Regions from separate parts of the Homo sapiens genome. Here region 2 is linked to region 1. Evidence: promoter capture Hi-C in human tissues and cell types (Jung and others, 2019). All regions are on one chromosome and are shown on one strand. Each heading gives the region's core, a stretch centred on a gene start or on the middle of the fragment in contact. The rest is flanking DNA. Distances are from core to core; before and after follow the strand shown. Region 1 holds the start of MAPK8IP1 (mitogen-activated protein kinase 8 interacting protein 1). Region 2 holds the start of LOC124902669 (translation initiation factor IF-2-like).

What was found. The method cuts DNA at HindIII sites, captures the fragments that hold promoters and counts their contacts. A contact is called where the count stands out against the background at its distance.
Region 2: a contact is called between a fragment that was not itself captured here and the fragment with the promoter of MAPK8IP1 in region 1, in 1 of the 25 tissues and cell types used here (IMR-90 fibroblasts).

Annotation. Positions count from the first base shown.
Region 1 is chr11:45,881,649-45,886,979 of GRCh38, reverse strand. It overlaps MAPK8IP1 (mitogen-activated protein kinase 8 interacting protein 1), which reads right to left and starts at 1,329. Exons shown (of 12, transcript NM_005456.4): 1 at 1,059-1,329. The coding sequence starts at 1,159. CRY2 (cryptochrome circadian regulator 2) reads right to left here. Exons shown (of 12, transcript NM_021117.5): 12 at 3,736-5,331. RefSeq lists a silencer at 1,068-1,467. The HindIII fragment of the contact is 16,221 bases long and covers 1-5,229 here.
Region 2 is chr11:46,236,383-46,241,685 of GRCh38, reverse strand. LOC124902669 (translation initiation factor IF-2-like) reads right to left here and starts at 4,297. Exons shown (of 1, transcript XM_047427965.1): 1 at 1,957-4,297. The coding sequence starts at 3,847. The coding sequence ends at 3,137. RefSeq lists silencers at 2,282-2,491, 3,318-3,637, 3,748-3,797 and an enhancer at 4,383-4,432. The HindIII fragment of the contact is 4,501 bases long and covers 1,694-5,303 here.

The DNA of each region.
Region 1 (5,331 bases), core at 80-2,579:
GTTTGATGATGCTATTAGAGATCCCCAGGGGTCTCTGCCCACCTGAGGACCTGGGAGCCAGTGACCCCTTGCTCCCAGGAGGGGCTGGCACCACAGCCCAGCTGGAGCCTGGCTGGGGTGGTGCCCCAGGAGAGGGGAAGGCGCCAGTTCTCGAGATGGGGAAACAATGGGGTATGTCTAAGCCTCCCTCTCTAGGCCGGGAGCAGTGACTTCGGCCTCTTCCTCCCCACCAACTAGGGTTCAGAATTATGGGGGAGGTACATCTATTCCTCCTCCACACAACACTCACCCCTCACTTCTCTGAAATGCATCGGGCCTAACACCAGATTGGGGGGTGGGGGTGGTGGAATAGGAGCTCAGGTCAGGGTTCTGGGTATTTACCCCAGCAGGGATCCCCTCGACACCCTCGCTGGCCCTGGCTACTCCAGAGCCGAGCCGACTTCCCTTCCCGCAGCCGGGCCTAGGATTCCCCTGGTTGAGGCTGAGCCTTCAGCGCCTGCCCTGAGAGACACACCTGCCTAGGTCGGTGCTGCCCAATCCAGAGAGGGGCCCGGCCACGCCAGGCCTGGCAGGTAGGCCCATCTGGCCAGGCAGGGCTCGGGGAGGGGCTCAAACATCCTCCTCCCAGCACCAACAATGTCGTTGCCCCAGGAAACTGCGACCCGCGCCCCTCCAGGCTGTTCCCAGCTCTATTCACAGGCTAAGATGCAGCCTGCCTGCCCGCTCCGGGATCGCAACCCCGACCCCAGACCCTGCCGCAGCCCGGAGGTTGGGGAGAAGGAGGCCTCCGAGCCCCCTCCTCCAATTCCAGCGCAGACCTCCCAGCCTAGGACCAGGAATGGCGGAGGGAACAGCCTCGTGAACATGCAACGGCTACCAGTCCGGACTTGAGGCTGGCGGGGCTTCTGAGGGGGGCTCTGTCCCGGGAAGAGACCCCACTCCCACGCAGCCCTTTCGTTCCCGGGTTCCCGAGGTTCTGGGGTGGGGGGCGGGCAGGGCAGCCAATGCGGATCAGTCCCCGCTGAAGGGCGAGGCGCGCGGCGGCCGGGGACTCTCACCTGAAATTGGGAGGCGAAGCGATGTGCAGCCCCAGGAACGGGGAGGCGGCGGGCGGGGACGCGGCCCCCCCTCCCAGGCCGCCGCTTTCTCGCTCCGCCATTCTCGGGCACAGCCCTGGCCATCCGGGCGGAGCGCGGCGCGGAGGAGGCGGCGGCTGCGAAGGAGGCGGAGGCGCGGCGAGAGGGCAGCCGCCGCCGCGGAGTTCGGGCTAGGCGGGCGCACCTGTGTCTGGCAGGGCGCGGCACAGCACCGCGCACGGCCCGCGGGACTGGCGAGAGCGCCCCGCGCGCGCCCCCGGGACCCGGCCGGGGTCTCGCGCGCCCCGCCCAGGCCCCGCCCCCACCCCGCCAGCCCCGCCCCCGGAGATGGCGCTCTCCGCGGTGCTGAAGCCACGGCCCCCGCGGCCCTGGGCTTGGTTCAGCCCCGCCCTAAATCCGACATCGACTCTCCTCCACCCCGTGGCCGGTGTGGGCTTTGTCCCTCCGGTTGGGCTTAGTGCCCGGGTATCAGATGACTAATGGCAGGACACTGGACCCCAAGGTCCAGGTTGGCCCCCCGCAGCAGAGACCAAGAAGGCAGGCGGAAAAGGAGGGTCGTGGAGGAAGGCAGAGAAAGGAGAGGATGTCAGTGGGCTCTTAAAGTGTACAGGTTTGGAGTCAGGTGGTGTGAATTCACTGGCTCCACAAGTGACTGGGCAGTGGGGCCTTGCATTAGTGACTTCAGAGCACTAAGGTTTGGTCTTCTTATCTGTGAAATGGGACAATAGCAGTCCCTCTCATGGTTGTTGTGAGAATGTAACGTAACACAAATGTGTTGCCTGAGACCCAGAAACACTCCACCTCCTGCGCTGGGATCCAGCCCTCACCCCAGTCCTGTCCCTTTACCTTGAGGGGACCCTCCCAAAGACTCTCCCTAGAGGCTGTCTTCTCTAAAGATTGACCCAAATCTCTCTTCAGCCCCAAACAGCTACTCGTGGTGAATTGAGCCCTCCAGGCTTCTCGGTCTCTCGCCAGGACCTTCCCAGCATTCTCCTTCTTAGCGCCTCAACTGCATTTCCTGCAGAGCACCCCTCTTCTGCACCCACAGACACACATTCTAAGACTTGGCGCCTTTCCCTCTCCTCCCACTGTTGACTTCTTGGGATCATTTTGGTTGTTTCTGTTCCCTCTGGCACCTCCATCCCTGCTAGGCTTTGGCCATGGCTTCTTCCTCATTGTCTCTCCCTCGAGAGGGTGTTATTCCTGGGCTTCCAGGCCTTCAAGTCCCTGAGTTTCCCGATTGAGTTATTTCAGAGTACGGACTGCCAAGGCTAGGGCCTTAGCTTTGCTGGGTCGTAGAGCCTCTGGTCAAACCTCATTGGCTTCTCTGGTCTCTCGAGAGAACCCTAGAGACCCTGTCCACAGGGCAGAAAACGTGCAGAGCAAACTGTGCCACAACTCGTGGAGTCCTATTTGCAAATCTGGACTGCCGACCAGTCATGCTGGCCCCTTTCCTTCAGTGCGGCACCTAGCAAGGAGCTGGAGGCACCTTCCGTGCAGAAGGCAACCTCCGACCACCAGCCCTGAGAATATCCCAATACCTAGAGCCAAAGGTCATGGCTGCTTCTCTTTTCCCTGTCCCTGGGGCCCAGAGGGGTGGCCACTACTTTCTCAGCTTTCGTGATCAGGCCCCTTTCACTGGGCCCTCACGGTAATCATCTGCTGCCATGGTGCCTGGCTTTTCCTCTCAGGAAAGCAGTCTTGCCATCATGGCTACTAATCGTTCCTTAGAATGTAGACCTGCCTCAGCTAGGGAACATCCTTAGCAGGTCAGGGGTGGATGTAAAGGACAACTCCCTCTTCCAGAACCTTTTGCTCAAGAGCAAAGTTATCTTAGCTCCAAAGACCAACCCAAAGCCATTATTAGAGAGAAGCCAGAAGGGCAAGAAGGAAAGGCAGGCCCAGGTCTTGGTATGAGGGAGGCCAGCAGGAGCTTCAGAGCAGAGCCAAGAATGAGACAAGTTCCCAAGGCAGGTTCCTCCCCTTTTCTCCTTCTTCACTCTGTGCAGGCCAGACTGTGATATTCTTGGGCCTTGCCTGGGCCCCTTCCCAGAAAGTTGGGGTGTGAGCTAATAAAGCTTTCAGTCCAAGGCTAGCATCCCCTAGCATGGAAGCAGGGCACACTGCACAGAGAGGGGCCATTCTCTGGCCAGGAGACAAAGCCAGCATCCAGGCGCCCTAGGCTTGGCTGTGGGCAGATCTCAACCACCTAGTCACAGCCAGAGAGCCTGCATCCCCTCCTCACCACAGGCTGCAGCTTAAGTGGCTGCATTGAATTAAAGGATGGATTGAGGGCGTGGAGCAGGCCCTGCACTGACTGACCCCCAGCCTGGGAGGGGGTTTAAGTGGGCTGCAAGGCTGGGTGGCACTGCAGGATGGCACTTAGGACCCTCACTCTGGGCCAGAGTGCTCTGTACTATTTTGGCCAATTGACCCCCAACTCTTGACCAAGCTCTGGACCAACTCTTGACCAAGCTGCTCCAGTCTGCTCTGGCTGCTCCCCCTTCCTAAGGAGGAATAGGAGGCTCCTGACTCCCACAGAACCAAGATGGGGTGGCCGACAGCTTCATTCAGGCTCAGGCTTACCAAAACCCTGGTTCCCAGGCCTCCCACAAGATTGACGACAGCACAAACTTACTCAAGACAGGTCAGACATTTATAAAACAAGTGAATATTCACAAACAAATTGTGGGAGAAACACACCTTCCCAGCAATAGAAAATCTCTATAAAGTGCATTTTGCCTGCAACCATCTCTTCCCCATGCTGGCCCTTGGGTCAGGATTTGAGGCACTGTTCCGAGGGAGCCCTCAGGGCCACCTGAGCTGGGAGAAGGGAGGCATGAAGCCACCATGGAGCTCCAGGCTACTGGACATACCCTCTCTACCCTGCCCTTCCCTCTTGGCTCCAGGAGTGCACTGCCTGACTCCACTGGCAGGTTGATCTGGGAACGGGCTGACATGCTAGGGATGGTGGAGAAGTAGGCGGAGGTGGTCCTGCCAACCTGTACCTTAGGGAAGAGAGCCAGCAGCAGACAGGCAGGAAAAGGAATCATCCTGCTACCCGAAGGCGCTGCTAGTGAATACTAAATCTGGGCCTCGGCCTTTGGCCTTCCCACTCTCAGATTTGCCCTTCCAGGTTTGCTTGACTCTCTTTCTGGCAGTGGCCCGATTCTCTTTCCTCTCGACTGGGGCTGAGGGAACAGGGAAGCCCCCAACCCAATGCTCTGAATGCACACCATCCCCTGTGCCCTGCTCCCCTCCCACGATGATGGGACATTTCTAGTGAAGGTGACATACGTACAACAGTTGGACTCTAAAGGCAGCTCTCTGGCTGAGAAAACCTGAGGATATCTCAGGAAGAAGCCTGTCAGTGTGATGGACAGCTACAGGAGATGGGTCTGACCCCAGGGTTCTGGTCCAAGGACAGAGGACAGTGAGGGACAGGGCTGGGGCCAAAAGAATTAACAGATCTGAGGCTAGGAAAGGTCACAGGGGAGGTAGAAAGGAAAAGGCCCAAAGGCCAGCTTAATGATACACGTGAGGACAAAAATCCAAACAGGAATCAGCCTCATAGCCACACACACACACACGTACCACACACGCACACACACACACACACTTTGTGGCTCAAGTGCAGGCCACAGGGTGGAAGGAAGACTTGCTTTAGTTGGCCACCGTCGTCCTTTTGCATGACATCTTTCTCAACACAGGCCTTTGGCAGTGGGAAGGAAGAGGTGGGAGGCACAGGCCACTCCTGGAATGCAAGGATTGGCTTCTCTGGGTCAAACCTCCCACCTACTGCTCCTGGAAGGAATGGTGTTCTGGGTGTAATCTCTACTTGGACTTTTGCCAACTGCCCCTGGCAGTCCCCATCCCTGAGTCCCTCTGCCTGAGTCCTTGGAGCTCAGCTACTGGGATAGCTGACATGGCAGTCTGGATGCTGACAAGTCCAGGACAGGCCCTGGAAGCCAACAGAATAAAGACTAGAATGGTTTCCCTGGCTGGGTGTCAGCTGTCCTCACTGGCAGCACTGTGGTGCCTTGGAGTGTGGCCAGAGAAACCAGGGGGCCTTACGCCACTGCAACCTGGTCTCCTCCTGGTAGAGTGAGTCAGTTTGACCCTTGCCCCTTCACAGCTCCTGGGTAGGCTCTGAGGCTGGCTCTTAGCTTCTGGGGAAGGAACAATGACAGCTGGGATTCTCTTTCTAATTTTAGGTTCTAAATCCTGAAAAGGT
Region 2 (5,303 bases), core at 2,695-5,194, 350 kb before region 1:
GGAGGCTGAGGTTGCGGTGAGCTGAGATGGTGCCACTGCACTCCAGCCTGGGCAACAAGAGTGAAATTCCGTTTCAAAAAAAAAAAAAAAAAAAAGTGTCTGAGTAGTTGTTCCCACATGGAGAAGCAAGTCAGTTACTATGGTGGAGCCAAACCTGAAAGTTGGAGCCATGAAGAAAGGAGCCAGGTGGAGGTGGGAACAGGAGAAGGTGAGCCCATGAGCTCATGCTAGGTTCTCTGCTGTCCTCCCAGCACCTACATATAATGGGCTCTCAATACATGTCTGTGGAGTGAAGGTACTGAAAGAAGGAGGGAAGAAGAAGCAGACTGAGGAAAGGGCAAAGAAGTCCAATAATTTTGCAGGAGGCCACCTGGGATGGCCAGGGTATTGGGTGAAGAGGGGGAATTCTTCCAGTTTAAAGGCACAGGGCAATACAGTCAGAACTATTAAGTGACAAGTCCCATGACTTTGTTTTCCTCGTTTGGAAAAACCTCCAGTTGGTGGTTCCAGAGCTGAGCAGTCATTCTACTTCACCAAGCCTAGTGACATCATCACCTATTGCCTCACCTTGATTGAATTTCCAGAGCAAATTTCTGGAAAAGGGAGGGGTCTGAGGAGTGACTGAGATCTAGAGGACAGGAATATCACCCCAGAAGCAACACTTCAAAACCATAAGCAGGCCGGGCGTGGTGGCTGATGCCTGTAATCCCAGCACTTTGGGAAGCTGACGTGGGCGGATCACCTGAGGTCAGGAGTTCGAGACCAGACTGGCCAACATGGTGAAACCCCATCTTTTCTAGAAATACAAAAATTAGCCGGGTGTGGTGGCAGGTGCCTGTAATCCCACCTATTCGAGAGGCTGAGGCAGGAGAATCACTTGAACCCAGGAGGCAGAGGTTGCAGTGAGTTAAGATTGTGCCATTACACTCCAGCCTGGGCTACAAGAGTGAGACTCCGTCTCAAAAAATAAATAATAATAATAATAATAAATAAAACCATAAGCAACGTGGTAGCCCAGATGGTCAGATGATGCAAGCATGTACTAAAAGGGTGATTTGTTTTACACATTCATTGGGCACTCACAGATTCTAGACACTATACCAAGCCCAGACCCAGACAAAGCTTCTGCCCTAAGGGCTTATGATCTAAATTCCTTGTGGAAAGTCTGTTTTTGAAATGTTTAAGGCATCTCATTTAATCCTCATTTCCATTTCAAGTCATGTACCTCCTTCCTGAGAAACCCACCACATTTTAAGTTTGTAGCTGGCTTTCCTTCTGTTTTTGCTATTTATGTGCCAATTTAAAGGGTGGGGAGAGCCACATTAATTTTAAAATAAAACACAAATAGCAAAATGAGGCTTGGTTAAAGGAAAAACCACAAAAGGGATTTTTTTTTTCTTTCTCCCATACTTTTCAGATTTTCCTAGAACCACCTTTATTTTCTCAGAGCCCAGACATAGAAAGTGAGTGGGCCTCTCCGGATGCTCTTCCAAGCTAAAGCCAAAAGCCTCATTCTTATTCTCTCCTTGCACCTTTAGGTTTTGTTTTTCTGTTCAACATCTGAGTCCCACATTGGGGACTCAAGCTGGTCAAGCCTCCCATGACATGTGGTATTTCTATGCACTCTCAGCGTAGATTTTGATTTGTTTTTCATGATTTGCATCTTACCTCTTCTGTTCAGTTGTTTCAGCGTGTACATTCTGGGTGATGAGAACATAGCTTTAAAGTCAGACACTCCTGGGAAGAATCCCAGCTTTGCCACTTACCAGCCTTGTGACCTCATCCATCAAACAGCAATCATCATCCACACCTCTTAGGGCTGTAGTGAGGATTAATGAGTCAAAGCACATAAAGGGCTCAGCGCAAAAGAAGCACTCTGTACTCGGTAGCTATTATGAAAATAGATCCTTTCATCTGTGTGCGCCTACTTAACCAACCCTCCCCATACCCACCGTATTTTGGAGAAGAGAAAAATTAGTCATTTATTCCAAGTAGATGATGTATCCCTATTTTAAATCACCAGAGGGCGAGAAGGGGAAGCAAGGCTGAATTTGACTTGCAGACATCTAGGCCTTTTAATGGGATGGGAATCAGTGTCCGCGCCTCTCAGCAGATGACAAAACCCGCTGTGCAGGGACTGGGGAAGTCTTGAAGGCCAGTGGTGGGATGGCAGGAGCACAGAAGATGGGGAAAAGTGGTCAGGGAAAGCAGGTCCAGGGCTGAAATGGTGGGCCTGAGGGATGGCAGCCACCAGGAAGGGAAGCTTCTTGCTTCGGGGTTCTGAGTCCAGGCGTCTGCAGGCCGACGTCAGCCTGCCCCGAGGTCCCAGTGACAGTGAGATCCAAGGCGTGTGCGGCAGCGCCCTCTGCCGGCCGCGCGGGGCAGGCGCCCAGCCCAGAGCCCGGCCCCGCAGTTCTGCAATGGGGACTCCAGTTCCCTCCGGCTGCCTCCGCCCCCGCTCCATCCCGACTGAGGACCGCGGACCCGTCCCGGAGTAGATTCCCGGAGACGCCTCCCTATCCTACGCCTGCGGGCTGAGCGGGGACGATGCTCAGACACACCCAATTCACCAGCGGATCGGAGGCCGCAGGAACCCATCCAAACCCCGCAGGGGCTGCGCCTCTGGGACCCAGGGCCAGACCCTGCTGGGCTGTCGGAAGTGGCATCGCCTATGGCCAAGACCGCGGGTTCTGCGTACAGAAAGGAGCCCTGGGTTCGCTTTCTGTCTCGTCCATTTTCCAGCTAGGTGACCTTGGGCAAGGTATTATACTTAAATTTCCATGTGCCTTAGTTGCCTCATCTTTAAGATGGACAGAAGGATCCCGTCCTTAGTGGGTTGACATGAGGATGGCATGGGGTCCGACAGCCGCGGTTGGAATTCTGGCACTGACATCAGCTAGCTGTGTGCCCTGGGGCAAGTTACTTAACCTCTCTGTGCCCGGGTTTCCTGCAAAATAGGGATGATAATGGTACTTACCTCCGAGGGTTGTTGCCTGCAAAGCGCTTAACACAGCACCTGGCACAGAGTAAGCGCTCAATAAATGGTGGCTACTATGGCTGTGGTCGTTATTATTGTTCCTAAAGGCGCTGAGCACACGAGTGGAGCTCTAGCTGGCAGCTATTATTAGTCTGTTTCTTAGGTCCAGCTATTTCTTTCCGGGCATTGTTCAAATCTTTTACCAAGAGCTCGCGTCCTTATCAGTAACCGAAGGACAGCCGGCCTTCCAGAGTTTGGAATGAACGAGGTTCCCCCGGAGGAGGGCCAAGGACGCGGCCGCGGGCTGCCGGGACCGGGACCTCCCGGAGGAAGCCCGCGCCGCGCCGCCTCCGCCCGGGCCTCCAAGAGCGCGTCAGAGCCGCAGTGACGTCGCCGGGCCTGCACGTGCGGGGAGCCTGGAGGGGGCCGGGAGGGCAGGAGGTCGGGCCGCTGGCAAGAGGCGCCTCGGGCCGCGCTGGGACCCTGCCCTCCGAGGCGGCCAGAAAAGCTGCGGGAAGGCCCGGCCTGGGTCCGCTGTTCCGCGCCTGCTCGCGCGGGGTGCGCTCGGGGCGCCGCCTGCCTGCAGCCCCGCGGGGAGGCCGGAGATGCCGACGCCCGCTCCGGGCCCCGGGGCCCGCTCAACCTGGCCGGGGGAGCTGAATTCCCGGCAGCCATGCGGCGTCGGCGCGGTCCTTTGCGCCCAGTCCCACCCGCCCGGATCCCACTCGTCGCCGTCCCCCAGCGACTCCCTCCGTTTCTTCCCCCTCTGTCCTCCGTCCGGACCAGCTCGTTTGCTGTCAGCGGTGGAGAGCCACTCTCAAGAGGCACCTCCCACCTCCGGCTCCCCGCCTGCAGCCCGGGCGCGCCCATCCTATCGCCCTCCCGACAGCTCCACGCGGTTGGCCCCGCGCGCACCGCCACTCGCCGCGTGTTGACCCGATTATTGTCTATCGCAGAGATGGCGCGACCGCCCAGCCCCTCGTCCCGATGCCTCGCCTTCCCTCCTGAACACTTCTCCAGGCACTCTGCACTCCATCCTCATTCCCACTTCATCCAGACCTCCCCGGCGCCCCGCCCCCCTTGGCTGTTGACACATTCCCCTCAAAGGTCTCCCCTGCATGCCTGTCTTCTTCAAATCCATCCTCCTCGCTCTGCCAGAACAGCCACCTGCAACCCCTGTTTTGCCATGCCTCTCGGCTTGGGGCCGCCCGGTCTTCATGGATGCCCTAGTCTGCCATTTTCTACACCACGCCTCCCGAGCTAGGCTCGGAGGCTGGAGCCCGCTGGGGCCACACTCTTGAAGGTCCTCAGGTCTTTGCTGCAGTTAGGCCCTATCCAGAGAATTTTCCCCTTCCTCCCTTCTCCCCCTCCCCCTACCGGCTTCCTCTTACTCATCCTCCAGAACTCAAGATGTGAGTCACCTTTTCAAGAACGCCCTCCCTGTTCCGCTATCTGGCCGAGTGAAGTGTCCCTGGGCCGCCTGCTGATTTTGTCATATTTAGGGGAGAGGCTTGAGCCTTCAGGATGGCCTGTGGGGTCCTGCATGGTCTGTGCACACCCCCTTCGCCTCCCCTCCCCTCAACATCAGCTCCTTTCTTCCCCTGCTCTGGCCACACAGGGGGTCTCAGTCCCTGGCCCCTACCTCACCTTCCCAGTCCAGCCTCTTAGCGCAGGCTTCTCTGCCTGAAACACCTTGCCGCCCTTCCTCTTCTACTCAATTTTCAGCTGTCATCTTAAGTAAGACTCAATTCGTCTGAGAAGCCTTCCCTGACCCACCCACCCCCAACTCAGTGGAATTCGCCTTTAATAGGTCAAAGTGCAATTCAAAAAAATTTAAAGCATACCAAAAAACTATAGCGAATAATATAATTAATCACTATTCTGTGTGCCTTCCCCTCCCCTAGCCACGTCTTTGTCAAAGCTTAACATTTGCTCTATTTTCTTCAGATCTTTTTTAAAGGACATAAAACCTCACAGATCTAGTCTTCTGAACTCATTTCTGTCCCTCCCCTATGGTAATCACTTTCTGCCTTTGAGTTTTACCATTCCTATGCATACTTTTGTATTTTTGCTACATATATTTGTGCCTGTAAGCACTTTACAGAATTGTTTGGTATGTTTTTAAACTCTGAAGAAATACCATTATACTGGGTATATAATTGTGCAACTTGCTTTTTTCACCCAGCAGGATAATCTTGAAATGTGTTCACATGGATACACGTAGTTCTAGATTATGCAATTTTCACTTCCTATTTGGGTCCCATTATATGAGTTCACCATACTTTATTTACCAATGTCCTTCTGAAGGACATTCAACTTATTTTTA